Linked DNA regions of Homo sapiens: regions 2, 3, 4 and 5 are each linked to region 1. Evidence: promoter capture Hi-C in 16 types of primary human blood cells and fetal thymus (Javierre and others, 2016). All regions are on one chromosome and are shown on one strand. The core of a region is centred on a gene start or on the middle of the fragment in contact, and the rest is flanking DNA. Distances in the headings are between cores, read along the strand shown. Region 1 holds the start of BAZ2A (bromodomain adjacent to zinc finger domain 2A). Region 2 has its middle 2.8 kb from the start of NEMP1. Region 3 overlaps NEMP1 (nuclear envelope integral membrane protein 1). Region 4 holds the start of STAT2 (signal transducer and activator of transcription 2). Region 5 overlaps ZBTB39 (zinc finger and BTB domain containing 39).

Region 1 (2,700 bases), core at 74-2,573:
ACTACTTCCAGTTGACAAGTTTACAAAAAAAAAAAAAGTCCAACGAAAGGTCTCTCGGGCCACATGGTTGGCAAGATCCAAGCTTGCCCAGAAGGCTTCAGAAAATGAAACCAAATCTGATTAAAATGGACATTTCAAAACAACAAGACACGCAGCAGCAAACGCACAGCTGCCATTTCCCGGCCACTTCCTGCGGGAGGCTGGGGGAGGGGCTGTTTGTGTACAGATAGAGGTGGAAAGCTATCCCCTCCGTCGTCCCCCAAAGCAGACAAATCTCTCACTCCAATTAACCCTACAAAGGACAACTGCTATTGACATTGCCTTCTCCTGAAAACTGGGAACACCGGGAAAGAAAGGGATGATGCGGTATCATCTTTCTGCCACGGAAGCGGGGATCCCCTCAGTGAGGAATCTCCTTGGAAAAAGGAATTCCTCTTTATTCTTCCCTTCTGCCCCTCAGCCCAGCTCAAATTGGAAAGCCTCAGCGGAAGCCCTATCAACCTCCATCCCCGGAGTGCGCGATTCTCCCGGGACGCGAGGGCCCCAAGCCAAGCGCAGCACCACCCTCAGCAAGGAAGGCCCTCTCCTGATCTTCACGCTCAAGAGAATGGGTGCGCTCCCCGAGGGAGACACCCTCAGACCCCTGGAAACCCCTTCCGCCCTCCACTCACCACAGTCAAAACGCCCAGCTCCCCGCAAACGGAGCGTTTTAACCCGCCAAGGGAACCCCCTCACCCACCCCTCGCGCTCAGGCAATCCCCACCCCCACCCGAGGAGGTGGAGCCCCTCCCGGGGATTCCACCCCAAGTCCCCCACAGGAGTCATCTCCACCAGCCAGGCGGCTTCTCCGCCTCCTCACTGTCGCCGGGAGCCCCTACAGCTCCTCCTGCCCCCGCGGCCCCGTCCGGGGTCCTCAGCAGCCCCACCAGCCCTGTTCTCCTCCCAGACCCCAGAGCAAGGAGACCCTCGCCTCGGGTTGGATCCTCGCAGGAAATAAGCTCCCGTCGGCTTCCCGCCCCGGCAAGGCTCAAGCCGGCTCTGGAGCTTCTGTTCCCCGAGGGAAGCCTCGGATGAAAGCGGGGCTCCCTCCCCCTCAGGCCCCTGGCCACAGACCCCACAAACCTGAGGCAGCGGCGTCCAGCCGGGCTCGGGGCTCGTCTCTCCCCGGGGTACAAGCGGTTCACATGGCCGCGCTCCGGGCGCCAGAACGGGTGGAGACGCCCGCTGGGGAGGGGGTCTGGGGTCCGGGGTTCGGGAAGGGGGAGGGGGACGCGGCTCAACCGCGGGGCCCGAGAGGAGCCAACATGGCCGGCGGGGGAGGAGTGAGTCGGAGCCGGAGGGGGCGGAGAAGCCTCGGCCGGGAGAGAGTCTCCCCACGCGGCCTCCGCCACAGGGTCCTAAAGCCCGCCAGCCCATCTTTCCGACCCGGACCTGGGTCCTAGCGCCGCTGTGCCTCCTGCAACTCTGGCCACCTTGCCCACCTGGCAGCTCCCTCTGCACCCGCATCTCATGGAGGCAGTGGTCCTGCTTCACACAGGGCAAACTGAAAGGCATGCCACAGTCCCAAGGTTAACTTAAAAGACTAGACCAAACGTCTAGGCCCAAAGGCAGGTGCCACTTCTCTAACAGGCTGGTAGGGGTAAGAGTCAGGGGAATTTCGGGGGCAGTTATTTCCCAGGTAGGGTAATGGAAACGTGGAAATAGAAAGGTTAGTCACTCAGGTCGCGATTCAGTAAAGGGATGGGGAGAGGCAAGAGTCAGCCACCCACTCACCTCTGTCCCTTCAGTGCAGCCTGGTCCTGCCTGGATCACCACTTTCCTGGCGACATCTGCAGGGCCCTGGTCACCGGAAAGGAAAGATTCCTGTGCGTGGGGGAAAGAAGGTTCGGCTCTGGAACCAGACAGCAAAGACCTGAGTGTAGCCTAAATGCAGTCAGAGAAGTAAAGGATAAGCTGAAAACTAATCAGCAAAAAGATGCCACAAATGTCCACCCATTCTATGGTTCTGGGAATTTTTTTCTGACAGGGCTACATAACTGTGTGAAAACTCAGAAAAGTAAAATCTAGCAGAGGACTAGAGTTTGGCTGTCACCTAAAATGTCCACTGCAGGGCACCAGGATGAAGAACAGTGTCATATGATGTTAGAGCTTAGAGAATTTCTAGTTCAGGCCGGACGCGGTGGCTCACGGCTGTAATCCCAGCACTTTGGGAGGCCGAGGCAGGTGGATCATGATGTCAGGAGTTCAAGACCAGCCTGACCAACATGATGAAACCCGGTCTCTACTAAAAATACAAAAATTAGCTGGGTGTGGTGGCGTGCCCCTGTAATCTCAGCTACTCAGGAGGCCGAGGCAAGAGAATCGCTTGAACCTGGGAGGTGGAGGTTGCAGTGAACTGAGATCGCGCCATTGCACTCCAGCCTGGGTGACAGAGGGAGACTCTATCTCAAAAAAAAAAAAAAAAAAAAATTCTAGTTCAACCTTCTCTCCTTCATCAAATGAAGAAATTAAGACCCAAAGAGGTTCAATGACTTCTTCAATGTCAAACAGTGGATAAAATATGACAAGAAAGGAAACCAGGTTTCCTTTCCTTGCAACTCAACACTTTGCAGCCTTGAAGATAATTCCCATTTAATTCAATGCAATGCAGTTCTAGAAACAGTTGCCTAAACTGTGCAAAGCTCAGGCTGCTGAATATTC
Region 2 (2,700 bases), core at 7-2,506, 450 kb after region 1:
AAGTCAAAATGGGCCGGGCATGGTGGCTCAGGTCTGTAATCCTAACACTTTGGGAGTCCGAGGCGGGTGGATCAACTGAGGTCAGGAGTTCGAGACCAGCCTGGCCAACATGGCAAAACCCCGTCTCTACTAAAAATACAAAAATTAGCCAGGCATGGTGGTAGGTGGCTGTAAGCCCAGCTACTCAGGAGGCTGAGGCAGGAGAATCCCTTGAACCCAGGAGGCGGAGGCTGCAGTGAGCCAAGATCGCCCCATTGCACTCCAGACTGGGTGACAGAGCAAGACTCTGTCTCAAAAGAGAAAAAAAAAAAAAGTCAAAATGGGCTGGGCATGGTGGCTCATGCCTGTAATCCCAGCACTTTTGGGAGGTTGAGGTGGGAGGATCACTTGAGGCCAGAAGTTCGAGACCAGCCTGGCCAACACAGCAAAACCCTATCTCTAATAAAAATACAAAAATTAGCCCAGCATGGTGGCAGGTTCCTGTAATCCCAGCTACTTAGGAGTCTGAGACAGAAGAATTGCTTGAGCCCAGGAGGCAGAGGTTGCAGTGAGCCGAGATCATGCCACTTCACTCCAGCCTGGGTGACAGAGCGAGCCTCTCTTGTCTCAAAAAAAAAAAAAAAAAGTCAAAATGGGGCTGAGCTATGGGCAAGAGAAGAGATTTCATTCTCAGAAGGAAAAGTCTAGGCCAACAGTGCTGATATGGTCATCCTGTATTTCACACACACACTCCCTCAGCTGACCTAGGGAAGTCAGCATCAATCATGTTGATACTATGTACCCTTGATAACATGAGATGAAAATGGCATTTTAACTCTGTGGTTTTCCTTCCCAAAACCCATAACACCACTCTAATCTTGAGAAAAACATTAGACAAATTCCAATAGAGGCATCCTACAAAATACCTGACCAGTACTCCTCAAAGCTGTCAAAGTCATCCAAACATCATTATGGGCTTTTTTGTTTTTGTTTTTTGAGACAGAGTTTCACTCTTGTTGAGCAGGCTGGAGTGCAATGGCACAAACTTGGCTCACCGCAACCTCCCCCTCCCAGGTTCAAGCGATTCTCCTGCCTCAGCCTCCCAAGTAGCTGGGATTACAGGTGTGTGCCACCCCGCCCAGCTAATTTCATATTTTTAGTAGAGATGGGGTTTCTCCATGTTGGTCAAGCTGGTCTTGAACTCCCGACCTCAGGTGATTTGCCCGCCTCGGCCTCCCGAAGTGCTGGGATTACAGGCATGAGCCACCATGCCCAGCCCATTATGTTTTTGAGAACTAAACATAATGTGGTGGTCTAGATGGGATCCTGGAACAGAAAAACACATTAGTTTAAAAAAACGAGGCTGGGCACGGTGGCTCATGCCTGTAATCCCAGCACTTTGGGAGGCTGAGGCGGGCGGATCATGAGGTCAGGAGATGGAGACCATCCTGGCTAACATGGTGAAACCCCGTCTCTACTAAAAATAAAAAAAATTAGTCGGGCGTGGTGGCAGGTACCTGTAGTCCCAGCTACTCAGGAGGCTGAGGCAGGAGAGTGGTGTGAACCTGGGAGGCGGAACTTGCAGTGAGCTGAGATCGCTCCACTGCACTCCAGCCTGGGCGACAGAGCAAGACTCCGTCTCAAAAAATAAGAAAACAAAAAAAAACACGGAGGCTGAGCATGGTGGCTCACGCCTGTAATCCCAGCACTTTGGGAGGCCAAGGCGGGCGAATCACGAGATCAGGAGTTCAAGACCAGCCTGGCCACCATAGTGAAACCCCGTCTCTACTAAAAATACAAAAATTAGCTGGGCGTATGGCGGGCACCTGTAAACCCAGCTACTCAGGAGGCTGAGGCAGGAGAATCACTTGAACCTGGGAGGCGGAGGTTGCAGCAGTGAGCCAAGATCAGTGCCACTGCACTCCAGCCCGGTGACAGAGTAAGACTCAGTCTAAACAACAACAACAACAACAAAAACTCAAAGGAAATCTGAATAAACTGTAGACTTTAGTTAATAATAATGTTTCAATACTGTTTCATTAATGGTGCTAAATGTACCATACTAATGTCAGATAATAATTGAGGAAATTGAATGTAGGGTATATAGGAATTCACCATATTATCTTTTCAATTTTTCTGTACATGTAATGTTTCTAAAAATAAAGTTGGCTAGCCTCAGTGGTTCACACCTGTGATCCCAGCACTTTAGGAGACCGGGTCTGAGGATGGCTTGAGCCCAGGAATTCAAGACCAGCCTGGGCAACATAGTAGGACTCTGTCTTTACAAAAATACAAAAATTAGCCAAGTGTGTTGGCACGTGCCTGTAGTCCCAGCTGCTCAGGAGGCTGAGATGGGACGATCACTTGAGTCTGGGAGGTTGAGCCTGCAGTGAGCCATGATCATGCCTCTGCACTCCACCCTGGGTGACAGAGTAAGACCTTGTTGCTAAAAAAATGAATAAATTGGGCAGGTGCAGTGGCTCATGCCTGTAATCCCAATGTCTTGGGAGGCCGAGGCAGGTGGATCACTTGAGCCTAGGAGTTTGAGACCAGCCTGGGCAACATAGTGAAACCCCGTCTCTACAAAGAATACAAAAAAAAAAAAAATTAGCCAGGTGTGGTGGCATGCACCTGTGGTCCCAGCTACTTGGGAGGTTGACGTGGGAGAATCACCTGAGCCTGGGAAGTCAAGACTGCAATGAGCTGTGATTGCACCACTGT
Region 3 (2,700 bases), core at 85-2,584, 430 kb after region 1:
ATGACCAAGGATTTTTACTTTGTAAATAAAATCTACAGCAGTTCATTCAGAAATGAAGGAGAAAAAAATTAACTGCGGAGTCTTTTACTTAAGGTCCCCAAGTATATTTAAAATATGATTCCATTAATAAAGTCAACTTACAGCTTTTCAGAAAGATGTTTATTGTGTAAAGAAAGGTATATTTATAAATACCAATAAATGAACATCTTCGCCTTAACAGCACCATTCTAATTTAAGAGAAGGTGATAATTGTAGAGGGATTAGAAATAAGTGAAAAACTATGATTTTTAAAAGTTTAAAAAAATGACATGAACTATTAAATCCCATAAGCAGGCAAAATCTTTTCATGATCAAATTAACTGAAACAGCCTATAAACGTACAAAAGGAAAGCAAAACCGACAACACTTACTTAAAAGATACTGCCAGTAACACCTCCAGATCTCTTGTAAATTTTTAAAAACTAGTTGAATGAGGTACAGAGAAAAAGACCAGCCTCCCACCAGGATGACGTAAATGGGACTTTTCTAAGACAGAGAGTAGAAGTGAAAGCAAAAAGTTACAACAGGCTTTCCATACATAAAAGAAGCAAAATGGAACTATGATTTTTTTTTTAAAAAATTCAACCTACTCAAAATGCACAAAAAACACTTCTCTTAAAAAGATGTCCTTTATACTTAAAATGGTACAGTCTGCAACGAACACTGGGAAGATGAAATGCTAAATAACTTAAAAGCCTGGCTATATAATTAAAAAACAGGAAGCAGACTTTAATCCCCCTCTGAGCACAGGATTTTATATAAAAAGAAAGAATTTGTAATCAGGCTCCAAGTTTCATCGTGGAAAGTACCTTTCTGAATCAAGGAGAGTAGGATATTGACTCATCAGCCATCAATACACATTTTCAGTTTTCTAAGATTACCCAGGAAAACAGTCCTTCAGCTATCCAAATTCATTCTAGCTGCACATGAAGATTCTGATACTTACCTTAGGCATAAACTTAGATAGTATAAAAATGATGATTAGCAGAGAGGCCACAATTCCCACAGTCATCCCAGTAGAGTAGTAGAAAATTTGACTTCTGCAGGAAAAAAATGTATTTCATGACCATATGTATATATTTCATACATAGCACTGTTGAAACTAGGACAACTAACCCAGCCGAAAGATTTTAAAAGGTACAAGATTAGAGCAGTACAAGCATCAGAGACATTTCAAATTTGGTTCCAGACCACTGCAATAAACCAAATATTGCAATTGCAGTAAGTAAGTCACACAAATTTTTTGGTTTCCCACTGCATATAAAAATTGTTTACACTATATTATAGTATATTAAGTGTACAACAGCATTATGTCTTAAAAATATATATTCCTTAATTAAAAATACTTTGCTAAAACCTGCTAAAGATCATCTACGCCTTCAGTGAGTCATCATTTTTTTTGCTGGTGGAGGGTCTCACTTCCATGTTGATGGCTGTTGACTGATGAAGGCAGTGGTTTCTGAAGGCTGGAGTGGCTGTGGCAATTTCTTAAAATATAATGAAGTTTGCTGCATTGACTCATCCTTTCAATGAAGATTTCTCTAAAGCATGCAATACTGTCTGATAGCATTTTACCACAACTTCTTTCAAAACTGGAGTCAATCCTCCAACAGCATTAACCCTTAACAAGAGGATCACCCCTCCTTTGAAGCTAGGCACTGACTTCTCTCTCGCTATCAAAGTCCTCAATGGCATCTTCTTCTAGTATAAGGCTATTTTGTCTACACTGAGGAGCTCTTTAATTGTAGCCACTTTCAACAATGATGTTAGCTAGATCTTCTGAATAACTTGCTACAGCTTCTATATCAGTGCTTGGTTCATCTTTTTTTTTTTTTTTTTTGAGACAAAGTCTCACTCTGTTGCCCAAGCTGGGGTGCGATGGCGTCATCATGGCTCACTGCAGCCTTGATCTACTGGGCCCAGGTGATTCTCCCACCTCAGCCTCCCGAGTAGCTGGTACCATGACTTTTTTGTATTTTTTGTAAAGGCAGGGTTTCACCATGTTGCTCAGGCTGGTCTCGAACTCCCTGGGCTCAAGTGATCTGCCCGCCTCAGCCTCCCAAAGTGCTGGGACTACAGGCCTGAGCCACCACGCCTAGCCTACCTTGCACTTATGTAATAAGACAGCTTCTTTCCTTAAATCTCATGAACCAAGAACCTTCACTAGCTGTAAACTTTTCTTCTGAGGCTTCCTCACCTCTCACCCTTCACAGAATTGAAGACAGTTAGGGTCTTGCTCTGGATCAGCCTTTAGCTTTAAAAAAGTTGTATCTGGCCGGGCATGGTGGCTCAAGCCTGTAATCCCAGCACTTTGGGAGGCTGAGATGGGAGGATCACGAGGTCCGGAGATCGAGACCATCCTGGTTAACACGGTGAAACCCTGTCTCTACTAAAAATACAAAAAAATTAGCTGGGTGTGGTGGCAGGCGCCTATAGTCCCAGCTACTAGGGAGGCTGAGGCAGGAGAATGGCATGAACCTGGGAGGCGGAGCTTGCAGTGAGCCGAGATCACGCCACTGCACTCCAGCCTGGGCAAGAGAGCAAGACTCTGTCTCAAAAAAACAAACAAACAAACAAAAAAAGAGTTGTATCTGGTTTAATCTTCTCAACAGCCAACTAAAACTCTCTCCATATCAGCAATAAGGCTGTTTCACTTTCTTA
Region 4 (2,700 bases), core at 169-2,668, 270 kb before region 1:
TTAGCCAGGATGGTCTCGATCTCCTGAACTCGTGATCTGCCTACCTCGGCCTTCCAAAGTGCTGGGATTACAGGCGTGAGCCGCTGTGCCCAGCCGGCCCCAACCTGTATTTTAATAGCTTCAATAAGTGGGCCTTTGTGCTTTAATGGGAATTTTCTTTCTTTTTTTTTTTTTTTTTTTGAGACAGGGTCTCACTTGGTCACCCAGGCTGGAGTGCAGTGGCATGATCTTGGCTCACTGCAGCTTTGACCTCTCAGGTTCAAGCCATTCTCTGCCTCAGCCCCTCAAGGAGCTGGGACTACAGGAGTGTGCCATCATGCCAGCTAATTTTTTGTAGAGATGGGATTTTGCCATGTTGCCCAGGCAGATCTCAAACTCCTGAGCTCAAGTAATCCGCCTGCCTCAGCCTTCCAAAATGCCGGGATTAACAGGCATGAGCCACCATAACCAGCCTAATGGTAATTTTCAAATACACACTAGAGTAGAGTGAATAGTACAAGGATCACCATCCAGCTTTAACAAACATTACTATTTCCACAATCTTATTTCATCTATCTCCCTAATTCATTTATTTTGCATTTATGTGTGTGTTTGTTATTTATATTTGATTGTGCTAAAGCATTTAAAGATCAGTGTTGATGTTAAGTATTTATTACAGCATGATCCCTGCTGGCTCTGAAGCTTTTTTTTTTCTTTTTTTTTTTTTCTTTTTTTGAGATGGAGTCTTGCTCTGTCACCCAGGCTGGAGTGCAGTGACACGATCTCGGCTCACTGCAAACTCTGCCTCCCGAGTTGAAGGGATTCTCCTGCCTCAGCCTCCCGACTAGCTGGGATTACAGGCGCCCACTACCATGCCCAGCTAATTTTTGTATTTTTAGTAGAGATGGGGTTTCACCATATTGTCCAGGCTGGTCTGGAACTTCTGACCTCAGGTGATCTGCCCACCTTGGCCTCCCAAAGTGCTGGGATTACAGGGGTGAACCACCATGCCCGGCCACCTGAAGCTTTTTTAGGAGCCAAATCTTTTTGGTGGTCAGGTAAGTACACCATATAAACTGCCCTCCATATAGGAAGGAGGAGCTCCATTCTAGAAGACATCTAAATGCTGTGCAATGGGTGGCTCAATCCCAAGAATATGACACGTTTATGACCTGTGAATCTTGAATATGATTATAGGTTATCAACTTTGTGAGATCCTGAAACTTCACTTAAAATTGTTGCCTGTAATCCCAGCTACTCAAGAGGCTGAGGCAGGAGAATGGCTTGTACCCAGGAGGCAGGGGTTGCAGTAAGCAGAGATCACATCACTACACTCCAGCCTGGGTGACAAAGCAAGACTCTGTCTCAAAAGAACAACAAATTGGTTTTTGCCTGTCACCAAGCAGGCTGTCCCATGCATCTTTCTCCCCACTGTTCCCTGCTCACTGCCAGCTGGTGTCTATTTAGGAAACTGAAACTTATGCTTGTTGCAGCCTGAGCCTAACAGAACAGAATTCATGCATATTTGTGGTCTAAAAAGGTCACATGATTTTATTACAAAATAAAGAGAAATGCTTGGGGTGGGAGAGTCTTCTACTAACATGAATAACATCAGCTGCCTTTCTACCTCCAGCAGGAACAAGGGAAGGGAGGGATTGGGCAGGGGCTATTTTCATTTTAACTCTTTTAGTAGTGCTTGATTTTTAAAACTATGTATCTGTATTGCTTTTATGATACCAAAAAAAAGTTAAAAAAATGATCAGGTGGCCAGGCATGATGGCTCATGCCTGTAATCCCAGCACTTTGTGAGGCCCACAAGACGAGAGGATGGCTTGAGCCCAGGAGTTTGAGACCAAGCTTGAGCAACATAGTGAGATTCCATCTCCAAAAAAAAATTAATGATGAGGTCCCAATTCTTGAGGATTTAAGTGTCTGATATTAAAGGAGCAAGTCAGCAAAGATTCAAATATGAAAACAAAACAAAAAACCTGGTCTCCCCAAATGGATTGCAAACACTGAGGTTAAGGGCTGAAACAATTTTTTCTCATTATCTCTCATTCTTAGGCACATATTTTGCACTCAAGAAGCTTTTCTGAAATGAACTGAATTTTGTGTGTGACCTTAGGCAATCGTTTCATCTTTCAGTAGCTTATACTTTTTAACAAAACAAGGATAATAGATTTATCTATCTTTGTTTTTAGATTTATCTATCTTTGAACATCGTTTTTTGGTGAAGATAAAAAATAATGCAGAGCAGAGGGAAAAACGTCAGATACCGAACCAACATAACAATGCCAGATTCCGGGTCTCGGAAGCTGCAGGGCAGTTTTGGGAGAGGGGCATTAGGGTTAGGGAGATAGGCTGGACAGAAGAAGATCGAGGACCGAGCAGGCGACAGCTCCTATTTCAATCTGGGGACCGAAGCTACCCTCTCCAGGGGGTAACCCCTGGGGCCAGTCGCCCTTCCCTCGGAGGAACTCTCACTCTCACCCCCACCCCTACCCCAGCACACCCTCTCAGGGCCCGTACCTGATTAGGGTTGCAGTCCCCGCGCCCTCCAATGGCTCTGGTCGCGACTTCCCGTCCCTAGTATGAGCTCGGGTACTAGAACCTCGCGCCCCGCCTACAACTTCGGCTAACCCCCCTCGGACCCGCCCCCTTGTAGTTGGCAGCGGAAGTCCGGAGCGGCCCCCATTCCCAGCCGCCACCCCGACACTGGCT
Region 5 (2,700 bases), core at 86-2,585, 370 kb after region 1:
ATTTGCTTTGGAAGTTAAGCAGTCTTGGGCTTGGGGAAAGGGGCACAGAAGGAGGCCAGAGGAAGAAGAAAATTCAACACTAGCAAAAACCTGTCTAGGAAAAAGATATTTAAGCCCAAAGGTTTGGCCTGGAGACAAACAGGTACTCACAGATCAGAAAAGCAGAATATAAAAAAAAACTTTTACCCATCTCCTGGTTCTTAGGGGTCACCTGGGCCTGACCCTTATCCCACCTCCTTTCTTCCTAACTAGCCATGGACTACGGGAACTCCATGGAGTCATAAAATTTAGGACCAAATACTAAGGTTCAGCAGAGCTTCCTAGCGGGTGCTGTGGCATCAGTGAGTCACCCAGTGGGTCACTGGAGTGCCAGGATACTAATCTCTGCCTCTGGCCACATGGAGCCTCTGCTGTTTAACCCCGGGTGCCACACAAGTATTACCATTTTCCCCTCGGAAAACAAGTTGGGAATGGCCTCATATTTGGTTTAATGCTCTATGACCACCACCTTGAAATTTTTAATAATTTATGAATAAGAGGGCTCCACAAATGATGTAGCTGGTCCTGAGTACATACCAAGAAAATGGGAGAAGAGGATGTTCAAGGCTTAAACAGAACTTCAGAGTAACACAGAAGAGAGTAGTAAACTAGGTTCCAGGAGAGAGGGAGCAACAAAATCAAATGAACAGAAAGTCAAAACAATTAAAAATGCAAAATAAAATGAATACCTTCTACCAGGTATCCCAGGGTGCCCTCTGCCACAATATAGTGTTTCAAGCAAAACCATTCAGAAGAGGGTGAGCTGGAGGCAGAGGAAGCAGACATGACTTTGGTGGGGTGGGGGGAAACGGGAAGTTCAGGTGTGAATACAGGGGTCACCAACAGGGAGAGGGTTTGGTCAACAAATCTCATGAGCTACTGATCCTATGACGTATCTGACTGGGACCAACTGAGCCACCCTGATCAATCTGATCAGCCCCCGGGGGATCAGGGGATGCAGTTTTCTGTTTCGTGTTTCAAGGGCCAAGTTTCAAGGATCTGCTTTTTGGTTTACTGGCAAAAAGGGAAAACTTCACAGTTTCAGGTTAAGTACACAGACCACCCAGCATCCATGATGCCCTCTGTTAAGGAAAAAGGTTTCTCCAGCACATTTATCTGCTCTCAGCCACTCGGCTGGTTCCTGTAATTACCACCTCTCTCACACCAGCATTTCAAAAATCAGTCCTCACCAACAGTCTGGGAGGGATTGCTCATGCTTGAAAATGTAGCAGACACTTGACTGTAGTCTGTTACACATTTCCTTCTTAAATTCTAATGGTCAGTGTGAGTAAGAAAGGGAGAAGCCAGTCAGCAATGAAGAGTCTCAACACTGCTTTCCTGATGAGGATGTCCTCAGAGGACACTGAACAAGGTGGGTTTAGATGGTCAAAGGTGGACCTTTAAACTGGCCACTGTACAAGTCCCTTCATCTAATGGTCACCCCACCAGAGAGCCAGGCACTCCAACTCTGAGGCTTTATCAGTTCAGGGCTGGGGAGAAGCAGCAGGTCCAACAAGGATGGAGCTTTGGTTTGTCTGACATCTCAATATAAATAAAGACAGGAGGCTTCCAAACTGTGCAAATAGGTCATTCATGTCACTTGTTCCCCTCAACCCTGTCCCCAATCTACTCCATCACAGGAAGGAAGGGGGATGAAAGGCCTGGAATTTAACTGTCCCGAACTTTATAGAACATACACCCATGGCCTAAAGTGTTCCCTGGGTTTATTATGCTAGAGACAATCTGGAGAAGAAGAATTTGCTTAAGGGCTTGACATGTCTTCCCTTAGTTATACCCCTGGTTCTCCACATCTCTGGTCAAGGCTGTTCTCTGGAATATGGCTACTTGCTGGGGAGAAACTCATTTTCCTAAAGTCTCTTATACAAAAGAGATGCTGGGTAATGTGTATACAAAAACAAAAATAAATAAATATTAATGTCCAAAAAGGCTTTGTGAGTTAATGAAAACCACTTGCTTGTGAAACAGCCCGGGGTGTTGCTGAATCCCACCAGGGGCAGTGCCAGGGCTGAGGCCAGGGACTCCCAGAGCTCACCTGAGCAGGGTGAGGTAGTATGAGCTACTGAGGTGGCACCTCACAAGTATGCAAGATCGAGGGCCCTATCCCTCAAGACTTCTTTGGGCAAAGCCCCTTAGAAAACCAAGTAAGAGTGGAGCTAACCAGCTGCGTGGGCTGTGCCGGCACACTCTGCAGCCACCCACGGAGGGCCTGAACCAGCTGCCATCCAATAGCGCCCCCTGGAGGTGATGGCAACGACAGATCAGGATAAATTCCAGCAGGTCAAAGGTGAGCTGACAAAGCTCCGGCACTGTTAGCACAAAGTAAACAGGTTACCCGACTAGGACAGACAGTCAGAACGCACACCCTGCTACACACCACCAGTTACTCAGGTCCCTTTAATCCTGAAGGGCTCGCGGTCTGCCACTCCACCACTTCATGGAGTCAGCTCATCTACACCACGGGCCAAACACTTCTGGACGGGAGACCAGATATAAATTAAGGCAAGGCTGCTGCTGTCAGATACATCCCCACCTCTCCACCAAGACACTCATGGCCAACAGAAGTGGCCAAAACAGATGACTATATCAAAGTGGTTCCCTATCCTCTCTGCCCCACAGAAGGCCGGACGTCCCGGGCCATCA

The links. The method cuts DNA at HindIII sites, captures the fragments that hold promoters and counts their contacts. A CHiCAGO score of 5 or more calls a contact.
Region 2: a fragment that was not itself captured here is called in contact with the fragment with the promoter of BAZ2A in region 1 in 8 of 17 cell types (fetal thymus, total CD8 T cells, naive CD8 T cells and 5 more); the score reaches 8.5 in fetal thymus.
Region 3: a fragment that was not itself captured here is called in contact with the fragment with the promoter of BAZ2A in region 1 in 5 of 17 cell types (naive B cells, total B cells, naive CD8 T cells and 2 more); the score reaches 7.2 in naive B cells.
Region 4: a contact is called between a fragment that was not itself captured here and the fragment with the promoter of BAZ2A in region 1, in 1 of 17 cell types (endothelial precursors). The highest score is 6.4, in endothelial precursors.
Region 5: a fragment that was not itself captured here is called in contact with the fragment with the promoter of BAZ2A in region 1 in 4 of 17 cell types (megakaryocytes, naive B cells, endothelial precursors and 1 more); the score reaches 7.5 in megakaryocytes.

What each region holds. Positions count from the first base shown.
Region 1 is chr12:56,629,003-56,631,702 of GRCh38, forward strand. BAZ2A (bromodomain adjacent to zinc finger domain 2A) reads right to left here and starts at 1,324. Exons shown (of 29, transcript NM_001300905.2): 1 at 1,123-1,324. RefSeq lists a silencer at 911-1,260 and enhancers at 1,481-1,530, 1,561-1,630. The HindIII fragment of the contact is 7,835 bases long and covers 81-2,700 here.
Region 2 is chr12:57,080,286-57,082,985 of GRCh38, forward strand. It overlaps a transcript of NEMP1 not described here. Among named protein-coding and RNA genes, the nearest start is that of NEMP1, 2.8 kb to the left of the region's middle. The HindIII fragment of the contact is 3,582 bases long and covers 1-2,700 here.
Region 3 is chr12:57,063,661-57,066,360 of GRCh38, forward strand. It overlaps NEMP1 (nuclear envelope integral membrane protein 1), which reads right to left. Exons shown (of 9, transcript NM_001130963.2): 5 at 986-1,079; 6 at 411-525. Among named protein-coding and RNA genes, the nearest start is that of NEMP1, 14 kb to the right of the region's middle. The HindIII fragment of the contact is 9,125 bases long and covers 1-2,700 here.
Region 4 is chr12:56,357,550-56,360,249 of GRCh38, forward strand. STAT2 (signal transducer and activator of transcription 2) reads right to left here and starts at 2,558. Exons shown (of 24, transcript NM_005419.4): 1 at 2,509-2,558. RefSeq lists enhancers at 1,425-1,624, 1,456-1,625. The HindIII fragment of the contact is 832 bases long and covers 1,003-1,834 here.
Region 5 is chr12:56,999,315-57,002,014 of GRCh38, forward strand. It overlaps ZBTB39 (zinc finger and BTB domain containing 39), which reads right to left. Exons shown (of 2, transcript NM_014830.3): 2 at 1-2,700. Among named protein-coding and RNA genes, the nearest start is that of ZBTB39, 5.9 kb to the right of the region's middle. The HindIII fragment of the contact is 2,971 bases long and covers 1-2,700 here.